Regions from separate parts of the Homo sapiens genome. Here region 1 is linked to region 2. The links are contacts of gene promoters, found by promoter capture Hi-C in human tissues and cell types (Jung and others, 2019). All regions are on one chromosome and are shown on one strand. The core of a region is centred on a gene start or on the middle of the fragment in contact, and the rest is flanking DNA. Distances in the headings are between cores, read along the strand shown. Region 1 overlaps LOC124904230 (a long non-coding RNA gene). Region 2 holds the start of SLC35A3 (solute carrier family 35 member A3).

Evidence for each region. The method cuts DNA at HindIII sites, captures the fragments that hold promoters and counts their contacts. A contact is called where the count stands out against the background at its distance.
Region 1: a fragment that was not itself captured here is called in contact with the fragment with the promoter of SLC35A3 in region 2 in 1 of the 25 tissues and cell types used here (pancreas).

The regions. Positions count from the first base shown.
Region 1 is chr1:99,929,150-99,935,511 of GRCh38, forward strand. It overlaps LOC124904230 (a long non-coding RNA gene), which reads right to left. Exons shown (of 7, transcript XR_007066251.1): 5 at 5,007-5,068. Among named protein-coding and RNA genes, the nearest start is that of SLC35A3, 38 kb to the right of the region's middle. The HindIII fragment of the contact is 3,519 bases long and covers 3,072-6,362 here.
Region 2 is chr1:99,967,858-99,973,896 of GRCh38, forward strand. SLC35A3 (solute carrier family 35 member A3) reads left to right here and starts at 2,139. Exons shown (of 8, transcript NM_012243.3): 1 at 2,139-2,305. The region is part of intron 1 of LOC124904230 (a long non-coding RNA gene); the gene reads right to left. RefSeq lists enhancers at 1,619-1,668, 1,729-1,778, 2,499-2,588 and a silencer at 2,179-2,378. The HindIII fragment of the contact is 9,355 bases long and covers 1-6,039 here.

The DNA of each region.
Region 1 (6,362 bases), core at 3,581-6,080, 36 kb before region 2:
GAAAATACAAAAACTAGCTGGGCATGGTGGCACACACCTGTAGTCCCAGATACTTGGGAGGCTGAGGCAAGAGAATTGCTTGAACCCAGGAGGTGAAGGTTACAGTGAGTTGAGATCCTGCTATTGCACTCCAGCCTGGGTGACAGAGTGAGACTCTGTCTCAAAACAACAACAACAAAAAGATAATTAGCATACTGTGGTAAAAGAGAGGTGGATACTTCTGGCTGGTGACAAACAGCCAGAGACGCGTTGCCTAAAGAGCTAAGGAAAACTGTTTCATCACTCCTGTAACCCATTCATCATAGAGTCCTACATGGGTTGGGAAGCTGCCCCCAACACAGAGATCAATTACTATATCTTGTGCCCAATCTAAGGAAGAACAAACCACTTACAATTAAAGGAGAAATTGTTATGTTGGACTTAAGGGGATAGTTTATCAGTTTTCAGCCTATAAATTTCTTTTGTTGTTTTGTTTGTTTTCTTTCAGTGAATGGAATATAAATTTCTTATGGAATGTTTAAGTATAATTGCTTTCCTAGAGAAAAAGAAATTGTGTTTTGAAACATAATATATGCATTTTTAAAGAACAACAATTAAGTGAACAGCATGAACCCACCACAGAGTTGAAAACGAAGACAAATATCCTGCCCCTATTTTAGACAATACTACAGCCAAGCAAAGATAGTAGCTGTTTATTTCACAAATTCCTGTCTAGGAAGATGAGACTGTAAACCAACTAAAACAGCTAGCTCACCAGTATTTTTCTGATAATTATCTTGCTCATCAAGATTTATTTTAAAACACTTGCCTCATTTTGTCCACCAATACAAAGCTATTATTTTTAAACTCTGCCTAATCCCAACCAGCTCCATCTTGCAATACCTGCCTTAAAAATCACCCAGCCATGTTCCAAAACTCTGTAAATACCTTTCCCTAACTTACCCCTTCTGAGAAAATACCAAGATTTTGTTAAGATGGTATTTTTCCTTGCAGCAATATTTAAGACGTGACCAACAGATTTTTCTGGAGGTATTTTATGGGAGATTTTTACAGAGCTTTAGAAGATAACCTTACCAGTATCACTAAAGTGCACTGCCTGCCCCTCCAAATTAGATTCCCTCTCTGCCACTGGTGGATTCTCCCTCCTGATTTTATGTTAGTTATTTTCCTAATTATCTCTATAGTGTTATATATGTATATCTTAATATACGATTTAGTTTTGCCTGTTTTAACCGTTATATATTTGGAATTCTATTATTTCTAATCTTTTTAAATTTAATTTTTGTAACATATTATGTTCTTGAGATTTATTCCCATTGATGAGTGCAGCTTGTGGCTCATTTTTCTTCTCTGCCATAGTTGATTCCATTGTTTGAATAAACCACAATTTATACATCCCTTCAAACGATTCTCTATAAGAAAATAACACCAACTTTAGTCTCTTTTTTCAATTTAAAAATAAATTTTCCAATATCTTTTTTTTTTCTTAATAGAGATGGGTTTCACTATGTCGCCCAGGCTGGTCTTGAACTCCTGGCCTCAAGGGATCCCCTCCCCCTCAACCTCGGCCTCCCAAAGTGCTGGGATTACAGACATGAGCCACCATGCCTGGCCAGCTTTAGGCTGTACAGTTCTTTTGTTCACAATATGTGGCATATTACCCAAAATAAAGAAACATTTGAAGAGAAAAGCAACTGTGATAAATAATCAAAAGAAAAAACAGACGAGATGCAGATCAAAATGATGCACTTGCAGAGGTTAGCTGATAGGCCTTTTCAAATAAGATTATAGACATGTTAAAAAATAAGAGAAGGAAATGGTGGCTTACACCTGTAATCCCAACACTTTGGGAGGCAAAAGCAGGAGGATTGCTTGAAGCCAGGAGCTCAAGACCAGCCTGAGCAACATAGGGAGACCCTGTCTCTAAATTAGTAAATAAAGGAAAACACAGAGAATTCCAAAAGAGAATTGGAATCTATATAAAAGTATCAGAAGGACATTCTAGAACTGAAAAATATTAATCTGAAATTAAGAATTTATATATAGAGTAGTTTTAACAGCAGACTGAGTGCTACAAGTAATGAAATCAAAGGCCAATCAATTAAAAATATCGAAACTAATGTAAAAAGAGAAAAATAACGGAAAGAACCAAGCACCGCTTGTGAGACACATGGGACAGTGTCAAACAGTCTCACACACTTGTAATTGGAGTCTCAGAATCAAGGAAAATGATAACAATGACTGAGAGTTTTTGAAAACTATTTATTGCTCACATTTTACCCCATCTGTCTTATTTTCTTAATTATTCCTCTTCACACACACGCACAGTACAGTTAACTCCAGTAAATTTAACATTGATGAAACTTTCATCAAATACACCTTCTAATTTCAGTGTTGTCAGTTCACTGAATAATGTCCTCCATAGCTTATTTTCCGTCGAGTACAGGGTCCAGTTAAGATCAGGTGTGGCATGCAATTGTCATCTCTTTAGTTCCCTTTAATCAGGAATATTTCCACAATATTTCTTTGTCATTTATGACATTTTTGAAGAAAAAAAGTTACCCCACCTCTTACCAAAAGAATATTCTTCATTTTGGGTTTATATGAAACATTCAGAAAGGCAAATACATAGACACAAAGAGCAGATTAATGGTTGCCTGGGGATTAGAATGGGAAGGGAAGAGGGAGTGACTGCAGTTGGGCATAAGCTTTTTTGTGGGGATGATTGAAATGTTCTACCATTAGATTTTGGTTTTTGTTATATAACTTTGAAAATTTACTAAAAATCATTCATGTATATACTTTAAATGGGTGAACTTTTTGGTAAGGAAATTAATTTCAATAAAACTTATTTTTTTTTTTTGAGACGGTGTCTCACTGTGTAGCCCAGACTGGAGTGCAGTGGCGCGATCTCGGCTCACTGCAACCTCCGCCACCCGGGTTCACGCCATTCTCCTGCCTCAGCCTCCCGAGCAGCTGGGACTACAGGCGCCCACCACCACTCCCAGCTAATTTTTTGTATTTTTAATAGAGATGGGGTTTCACTGTGTTAGCCAGGATGGCCTTGATCTCCTGATCTCGTGATCCACCCGCCTCAGCCTCCCAAAGTCCTGGGATTACAGGCGTGAGCCACCGCGCCTGGCCACTTTTTTTTTTTTTTGAGACAGAGTCTGGCTCTGTCGCCCAGGCTGCGATCTCGGCTCACTGCAAGCTCCACCTCCCGGGTTCACGCCATTCTCTTGCCTCAGCCTCCCAAGAAGCTGGGACTACAGGCACCCGCCACCATGCCTGGCTAATTTTTTGTGTTTTTAGTAGAGATGGGGTTTCACCGTGTTAGCCAGGATGGTCTTGATCTCCTGACCTCAGGATCCACCGCCTTGGCCTCCCAAAGTGCTGGGATTACAGGGGTGAGCCACCACTCCCGGCCCAATAAAGCTTTTTTAAAAAGTTAGATGCAGAGAGAAGAAAATATCAGAAAAACTATGATTAATATCCTCTAAGGTATAGGAGGAGATATTGCATTCAGGAAACAAGAACAGGATGCTATTGTTAAAAAAGGAACACCTGGGGACATAAAAAGAGCTCTTAGATATTGAAAACTCCAGCAGAAACAAAGAATTATACAATAAAGTTCAAGAACTTTCCCAGGGGAGCCAGGATGATGTTGAAGGGAGATCTCAAGGTGACATTTGTAGAGTGGACCTAGAGATCAACCAGTGCAGATTGGAGCTATCCAAGGAAGAGGGTTCTCTAAGTCATTAAAATTGATGGGATACCTAGTGCGTTTGAACTTTTAAGAGGATTCCTAGGTAAAGAAGTAGGGCTAGATTGTTCCTAAGTACTTAGAAAACTAAGCAAGCAATAACAAAAATAGATATTTAACAATAGAGGAAATAACGTTTTGCAGAAAAGGAAAGGTAATTAAAGTATACCATATGGCTCAGCTGTTAATAAAACTTAAAAGAGTTATTAGTACCATAAATGGTGAATTTTTATTATAGCAAAGTTATGATGAAGTTATACTGACTGGACTGGGGATGGAAAATGTGTTTGCCGTAGAGGCTAGGAGGAATGGGAAGGTGTGTGTGAAAGATAATTAAATGGACATCTTCCATAAAAGTCAATAAGTAATGCCTAAAATTGAAAAAAGAAAAAAACAAGAAATAGCAATATAAACATGTTACATAGCAACATGCAGGTAATACCCAAAACAATCAGTTCAGATATGAAATGGCTGGAAGAACATGAAAGATCAGTAGAAGTTGGGGCTGACTGGGTGAACTGGTGTTTGGGGAACAAAACTTACAGATCTCTTAATACTGTGGGCAAGGAAGCTTTGATGAAAATAAAAAAAATAGGCCAGGTGCAGTGGCTCACGCCTGTAATCCCAACACTTTGGGAGGCAAAAGGCAGGTGGATTGCTTGAGGTCAGGAGTTTGAGACCAGCCTGGGTAACATGGTGAAACCCCATCTCTACTAAAAATACAAAAATTAGCCAGGCTTGGTGGCACAGGCTTGTGATCCCAGCTACTTGAGAGGCTGAAACACAAAAATAGCTTGAACCCGGGAGGCAGAGTTTGCAGTGAGCCAAGATCAGGCCACCGCACTTCAGCCTGGGCAACAGAACGAGACGCTGCCTCCAAATAAATAAATAAATAAATAAATAAAAATTTAAAATAAAATTACATGAAATTAAAAATTGAACCTAGAGAAGAAAAAAGAAATACTGGTCCGTATTAGGAAAACACAGGGACATTTCTGCCTTCAAGACATCTGGCTCTGGTTGTTCTTAAGAAGCCAAAGAGATGTATATTTCTATTAAATTATGTACATCAAGGGTGATTTTAATAAAAAGATCCAGTAACAGAAAATTACTAATGTCCTCATTTCTGAAATGATGTTCAGGAAACTTCCATTTCATGAGCAGGTGAAGAAGAGGAACCCACAAAGGAGATAAAATCTGAGTTTTAGGTTCCCCTCTGCAAGGTAGGAAAATAGACACTCACTTTATGATATTGCCAAAAGGATTTCCTTCTTTGCCAAGTTTTAAGTTCCCAAATTTTATCTTCTTTACCTCGTTTTAGAAGAGAATGAGAGAAAGAAAAGGCAATGAATGGCAGTGTACTGGTGCCTGGTGAGACATTCTCCTTTTTAACTAAGCAGTATTCCTTTCTGCTTTTTCTTTCCTCAAATCCAAATCCTTGGAGATAGGAATCCAGCACTAATAACTTTCAAGCCCCCTAGGGGAGTCTAATTAACTGTTAGGGTTGAGACCACTGCATCAATGGAAGTCAGGATTCTGAAGCCAACAAGTTTGACTACCAAAATAAATCAAATATTTTCTGTCATCTTGCCTTTTTTGCCTTTTATACAAAATGTTTACAAACCTGTGATCATATACAGATAACAATTTCATACCCAGATATTCATTTTCAACAGGTATACAATTATTTCATTATGTATCATATGAGAATTAATTTGTTCTAAGGGAAAAGTTCCAGGTGTAACACTTCTAGCTCTGTGTTCATGTACATGAAAACTGAGGTTCACAAGAATTAAATGACTTACAAATAAAATGAATATCATACCTTAGGAATCTCGAGATATGAGAATGAATACTCTCATATCTCAGGAAAGGAATAGTCACAGGAATCTAAGAATTAAGTGAAACAATCTGTCTAAAAATACCAATTTAAAAATAGCATTCATATAAGATGGATTATTCCATTAGAACAGTGATTTTCAGCCAGGTGTGGTGGCTCATGCCTGTAATTCCAGCACTTTGGGAGGCCAAGCTGAGAATCCCTTGAGGCTAGGAGTTCAAGACCAGCCTGAGCAACATCACTAGACCCTGTCTCAAAAAAATTTTTTTAATTAGCCAGGTGTGGTGACATTTGCCTGTAGTTCTAGCTACTCAGAAGCCTGAGGCTAGAGGATTGCTTGAGCCCAGTAGTTAAAGGTTACAGTAAGCTATGATCACACCACTGCACTCCAACCTGGGTGACAGAGCAAGACCCTATCTCTATTAATAAAACAAAATTAATAAATTGCCTCTCTGGAGAGATTTACCAATATCTGGAGACAATTTTAATTGTCACAGCAGAAGAGTGCTACTTGCCTCTAGTGTGTTGCTAAACATCCTATACAGCATAGGACAGGTCCTCACAGTAAAAAATTATTGCAGCCCAAAATGCCAACAGTATTGAGGTTGAGAAACCCTGTACTAGAATACATTAATATTTAAAACACAAAATAAGTGACTTTTATATCTCAGTATTACCTTTATAATCTCCAAAATTACTTCTATCTTTCAGTAAAATGAATATTCACCACATTAATAATTGGCTGAATAATTGGTTATA
Region 2 (6,039 bases), core at 889-3,388:
TCAAGTGATCGTCCCACCTCAGCCTCCCTCATGAGTAGCTAGGACTAAAGGCATGTACCATTATGACTGGTACATGTTTAAATTTTTATTTTTTGTAGTGATGGGATCTCAATATGTTGCTCAGGCTGGTCGCGATCTCCTGGGCTCAAGCAATCCGCTGGCCTCAGCCTCCCAAAGTCTTGGGATTACAAGCGTGAGCCACCACATCTGGCCTGCAAAGGCTACTTCTGATTGCAGGCCCTCTAAACAGTCATCTCAAAATATGTCAAAGTAGTATATTTTGGGGTAAAATATTTTGATTTCCTTCAAAGCCATTGTAGGGTTAATAATTGGCCTAATTTCAATATTGCTGTTTATTGGGAAATAGGGAGGCCCAAGGGGGAGAAGTGTGGGGAAATGGGCAGTTGGTGGAGTAGTCAGAACACACATAACATTTATTAATTAAGTTTGCCTTTCTATATGAGTGCAGTACATGGCACCTGTATTAGTCCATTTTCATGGTGCTGATAAAGACATACCCGAGACTGGGAAGAAAAAGAAGTTTAATTGGACCTACAGTTCCACATGGCGGGGGAGGCCTCAGAATCATGGCGGGAGGTGAAAGGTACTTGCTTACATGGCTGCAGCAAGAGAAAAATGAGGAAGAAGCAAAATCAGAAACCCCAGATAAACCCATCGGATTTCATGAGACTTATTCACTATCATGAGAATAGCACAGGAAAGACTGGCCCCCATGATTCAATTATCTCCCCCTAGGTCTCTCCCTCAACACGTGGGAATTCTGGGAGATACAGTTCAAGTTGAGATTTGGGTGGGGACACAGCCAAACCATATCAGCACCCCAAAACAATTACCATAGTAACATCAAAGATCATTGATCACAAAGCACTATACCAGATATAATAATGATGAACAAATTTAAATATTGCAAAAATTATTGAATATTATGTGACACAGAGACACAAAGTGAGCACATGCTGTTGGAAAAATGGCACCAATAGATGTGCTTGAGGCAAGGTTGCCACAAACCTTCAATTTGTAAAAAAAAAAAACAAAAAAACAAAAGCAATGTCTGTGAAGAGCAATAAAGCAAATCACAATAAAACGAGGCATGCTGTTATCATCATCTAACAGGCACATTTTGGTTTCAAAAAAAACTGGGCATGTATTAAGATCTAATATGTATTTTACCATCCAGGAATTTTCTCAAGACTGTATTGCAGAAAATTTTAAAACCAGTTATTCTACTCTAATACAGTTACTTATTTTTCTTCAATATCACTTTTTTTCTAAGTATGTCTCTCTTGGACATGGTTTTAATCATTTGCAATATAAAGAGACATAGGCTTAATTTATAGCAGCCCTGAGTTAACAAAAAGAGATAATCCTATTCGCTTATTTGATAATCCAGCTGAACCTGAAGTACTGATTTCAGCCTGTTCATCACCTGAATGGGCTGCCGTGGTTAGAGGGTTTCCAACACAGCTACTGGAACACTTTTAAAAGGTAATGCTGTGATCCATGCAGCCAGGAAGGGGTTGGTCCCTCATAACTCTGCAATCCTCTGGGCCCAGTTTTCTTTTTCCTCTCCCGGTTGATGACACTAGGCCCATTGGTGGTACGGCTTTGGGTTTCCTTCAGTCTCAAGATCTCAGTCAGGGTGGGTGAAGTGGAAGAACAAGCCTTCTTGCAGACCACTGGTTGGTTGGCAGCCTTTGCCATAGCTAATCTGGTTGTTTTCAGGTCAGTGACAGTCACTTTTAGGAGAGGGTTCGTTTGCTTTCAAAATCCATCTCCCCGTTCCTCTCAGGGTTCTTTGCCCCAAAGGACTTTGCCCTTCCTTACGCAGTGGACACCTTGGCACCCTCTGCAAACAGACAGTCCCGCAGAGGCCCTCGACGAGTGTCACTCCATCTGTTTCGCGCTCCTAGGAGAGGTGTAGCAGAAAGCAGTGCCCCAGGCCTCCACGCGACGGTGAAGCAGGAACCAGGGGCTGCCAGCAGAGCAGCCCAGGTGCGTCGCCTTAGGGACAGAGCTGCCAAGTGCCGAGCTGGGGCTGCCAGAGCCGAGCCGGGAACGGCATTTGCCAGAGCCGAGGCGGAAGCCGGAGCATTTGGGGGACGGGACCGCGGGAACCCGGAAACGCCTGGGCTGCACCGAGCTGGCGGTGGCTACGGCGACGGGAGCCGGCGGCGCTGCGGGTCAGCGGTCGCGTAGGACCCAGCGGACTCGGCAGCCTGGGGCGCCCGGCGGAGCTGAACCGCGGCCCCCGGTGGTGGGCTCAGCCGGTCGAGCTGCGCGGGAGGTGAGTCCTCAGCGCACCTGGGGAGGGGCGGGAACCAGGAGGCTAGCGGCTGCGGGGCGGCCCGGGAAGCTCCTGGAGGAGGAGGAAGAGGAGGCATGCGAGGGGGCTGATGTGAAGTCTGTAGGGGTGAAGGGGACGGTATCGAAGACCTGAAATACAGTGCTAGCTAAGTAGGGGTGGGAGCAGATGAGGTGACACGTTGTAACTCCGACGGACGACGTGCGGAATGTACTGGGTGGAGGAGGAAAAAAGGCCCGAGGAGAGGGGTGTGTCAAGCGAATGAAGACGGCAGTGTGTGCCTCAGCGCCTGGTGCGTGCGGAGCTAGTGACGGGTGGGCCCGGCTGGGGCCCGTCATTCCTTCAGTGAACATCCCATGAGCTCTCGCTCGGTGTTGAGCCCTGTGGTAGGCACAGATGCACCCGACCAGCACCTGGAGCTCAAGAAGCCGCAGGAACTTAAAGAAATGGAAAGGCTGCCCTTGGTAAGGCTAGTAAGAACACAAGGACTGTTTGAAGTGGGGTGAGATTCTCATCAGAACAGGTGTGTGGGTGCATTGCTTTATAGTAAAAGACGATCTTTTATTATGTTCTCTTAAATGCAGTATTTGAAAATTAAGTCTTTTCGTTTTTGAAATCAACATTCGACTTTAGTAGTTAAAGATGAAATTTGGTGCAGTTTCTTACTTGGTGTTCTTATTCACTTTCACTGGTAAACTCAGGGTGTTTCAAGGGAATGACTTGTAAACTTATATTTCTGAGGCTAACTTTCCTCCCAACTGTTGATTCTATCTCTTCAGCATCTCAAATTTAGTTCTCCCCTTTTTCATTCCCACTACCTGTCTGCTAAATATGCTCGTCTTTCCTCTTCTTACTTGCACTATAGCAATAACTTCCAAACTGGACTTGTCCTCAGCCTGGCACCCTTCCAGTCACTTGCCTCCATATTACTTTTAAAGCCAAAGATCTTATGACTTTCTTTTTTTGGTTATTCCTTCCTCAGAAATACGCAGTGACTCTCGATCGGCTTCAGAATAAAATGTAAATTATTTAGGGAGGCATTTAATAAATTTTATATTATTTAGGGAGGCTTCAGATTTTTCCTTCAGAATTTGAGTCTGACGGTGGCTCCAGTAAAATCAATATGATTCTTTTTTTTTTTTTTTAGACGGAGTCTCGCTCTGTCGCCCAGGCTGGAGTGCAGTGGCGCAATCTCAGCTCACTGCAAGCTCCGCCTCCCGGGTTCATGCCGTTCTCCTGCCTCAGCCTCCTGAGTAGCTGGGACTACAGGCGCCCGCCGCCACGCCCGGCTAATTTTTTTGTATTTTTAATAGAGACGGGGTTTCACCATGTTAGCCAGGATGGTCTCGATCTCCTGACCTCGTGATCCACCCACCTCGGCCTCTCAAAGTGCTGGGATTACAGGCGTGAGCCACCGCACCCGGCCCCCAATATGATTCTTTCTTTTTTCCTTTTATTAAACAAGTATTACTTTTTTCCACATATCCTATTTTTTAGCCAAACTAGTCGTTAATTAGACGTCCAGTTTCTGAACATGCTATATGCCTGTCAGCCTTGGTGTTTGCTTTTATCATTTCTTCCTACAAAGAAGAAACAAGGAAGGCCTTCCTTGCTGTCTTTGTAGAAATTCTACTTATTCTTCAATTCCTTAAATGCCATCTCTTTCTTATGCAGCTTTCTGAAATCTGCCATAAATCCAGTTCATTCTTTTTTTCTTTTTCTTTTTCTCTTTTTTTGAGAGAGTTTTGCTCTTGTTGCCCAGGCTGGAGTTCAATGTTGCGATCTCGGCTCACTGCAACCTCCGTCTCCCGGGTTCAAGCGATTCTCCTGCCTCAGCCTCCTGAAGTAGCTGGGATTACAGGTGCCCGCCACCACACCCAGCCAATTTTTTTGTAGTTTTAGTTGAGACGGGGTTTCACCATGTTGGCCAGGCTGGTCTTGAACTCCTGACCTCAGGTGATCCACCTGCCTCGACATCCCAAAGTGTTGGGATTACAGGCATGAGCCACTACGCCCAGCCCATTTTTTTTTCTTCATGTGTGCTGGGCTTTATAAATCTTACAACACTTGTTAAATTTGCATTGTAATTTGAGAGTTCTATTATCCCTACTGTAATGTAAGCTTCCTAAGGAAAGCATTTGTACTTACTACTTTTTTTTTTTTTTTTTTTGAGATGGAGTCTTGCTCTGTCACGCAGGCTGGAGTGCAGTGGCGTGACCCTCTCGCCTCACTGCCACCTCTGCCTTCCAGGTTCAAGAGATTCTTCTGCCTCAGCCTCTCGAGTAGCTGGGACTACAGGCGTGCATCACCACACCTAGCTAATTTTTGTATTTTTAGTAGAGACGGGGGTTTCACCATGTTGGCCAGGCTGGTTTTGAACTCCTGGCCTCAAGTGATCCACCCACCTCACCTCCTAAAGTGCTGGAATTACAGGCATGAGCCACCGCGCCCAGCCTGTACTTACTACATTTTTAAAGCACTTTAGTACTTGAACACATCATGATGTATTAGACTCTTAAATATTTGTTACATTAATCATGTAATGAAACAGACTGTTATTGTGCTTCTGGAGACAAGATGAGCTCTTGAGTTGTTATAGAAACTTACTGTGGATTTAATATTTGAAAATGCTTTTCTGTTCCATGTTTTAGTACCTCATTTGATCCTAGTAATAAATCGTTGGTGTAGGATAGTTATTATCACCGCTATTTTATAGATAAGAATATTAAAGTTCAGACAGTCCAAATAATTTGCCCTGGGACCTACATATACGCCTTAGGCTGCCTCAATTATATTTGAAATTGATATAATTTGTGTCCTGAAACATGTGCCTTTTACTTAGTAGAAATTCAACATTTTGCTCGAGTGATTGGATAAGTTACAGAATCAATGGAAAGAATCTCGTTTGAAAGCCTAAACTTGTTCAGTAGCCATGAAATATAACTTTTGAGCTTTTCCTTTCCTGAGAAGTATAGAGAGTGAAGTTTCTGTTTAATGTTAATCAACTGTGGATTTGTCTGTGTGTGTGCATGTAAGTGCCAGAAATTTAGAGTAAGTTATAGACCTGTCTGGGTAACTGAAATAGCTTGAACATCATCACACTGACAGTTAATAATGTCATTCATGAGTATTAATTTATTATTAAATAAGATTCAGGTGAATATGAATTGGTAGCTTAACATTAGATTTTAATCCTCACAAAAGCAATGTATTCTTAAGTATGTTCAACTTAATTATCTCTATTAATGAAGGAGTGTAGTGGTTATATATTTTTAATCATTGTTTCTTTAATGTATCTTTTATATAAATTCGAGTGTTTTATATATAAGTGTGAAAATGACTTTAGAAGCTACAATGTTGCTTGGCTTCTCTATCCAGATTGCCTGACCAGAACTCTTTCTAGTTTATCATCCATATTGGAGACACCATCTAAAATGAAACCAAAGAGCCAGTTTAAAATAAGTTGCTGTACTTAGAGATAAGAAGTTTGATTGAAAAGGTATGCTAGGTCAGGAAGCATAGTGGAAATTAGAATTACGATGAAGCTGAAACTGGGCCGGGTGTGGTGGCTCATGCCTGTAATCCCAGCATTTTGGGAGGCCCAGGCAGGCGGATCACGAGGTCAGGAGTTTAAGACCAGCCTGACCAGCATGGTGAAACCCTGTCTCTACTAAAAATACAAAAATTATCCTGGCGTGGTGGTGGACACCTGTAGT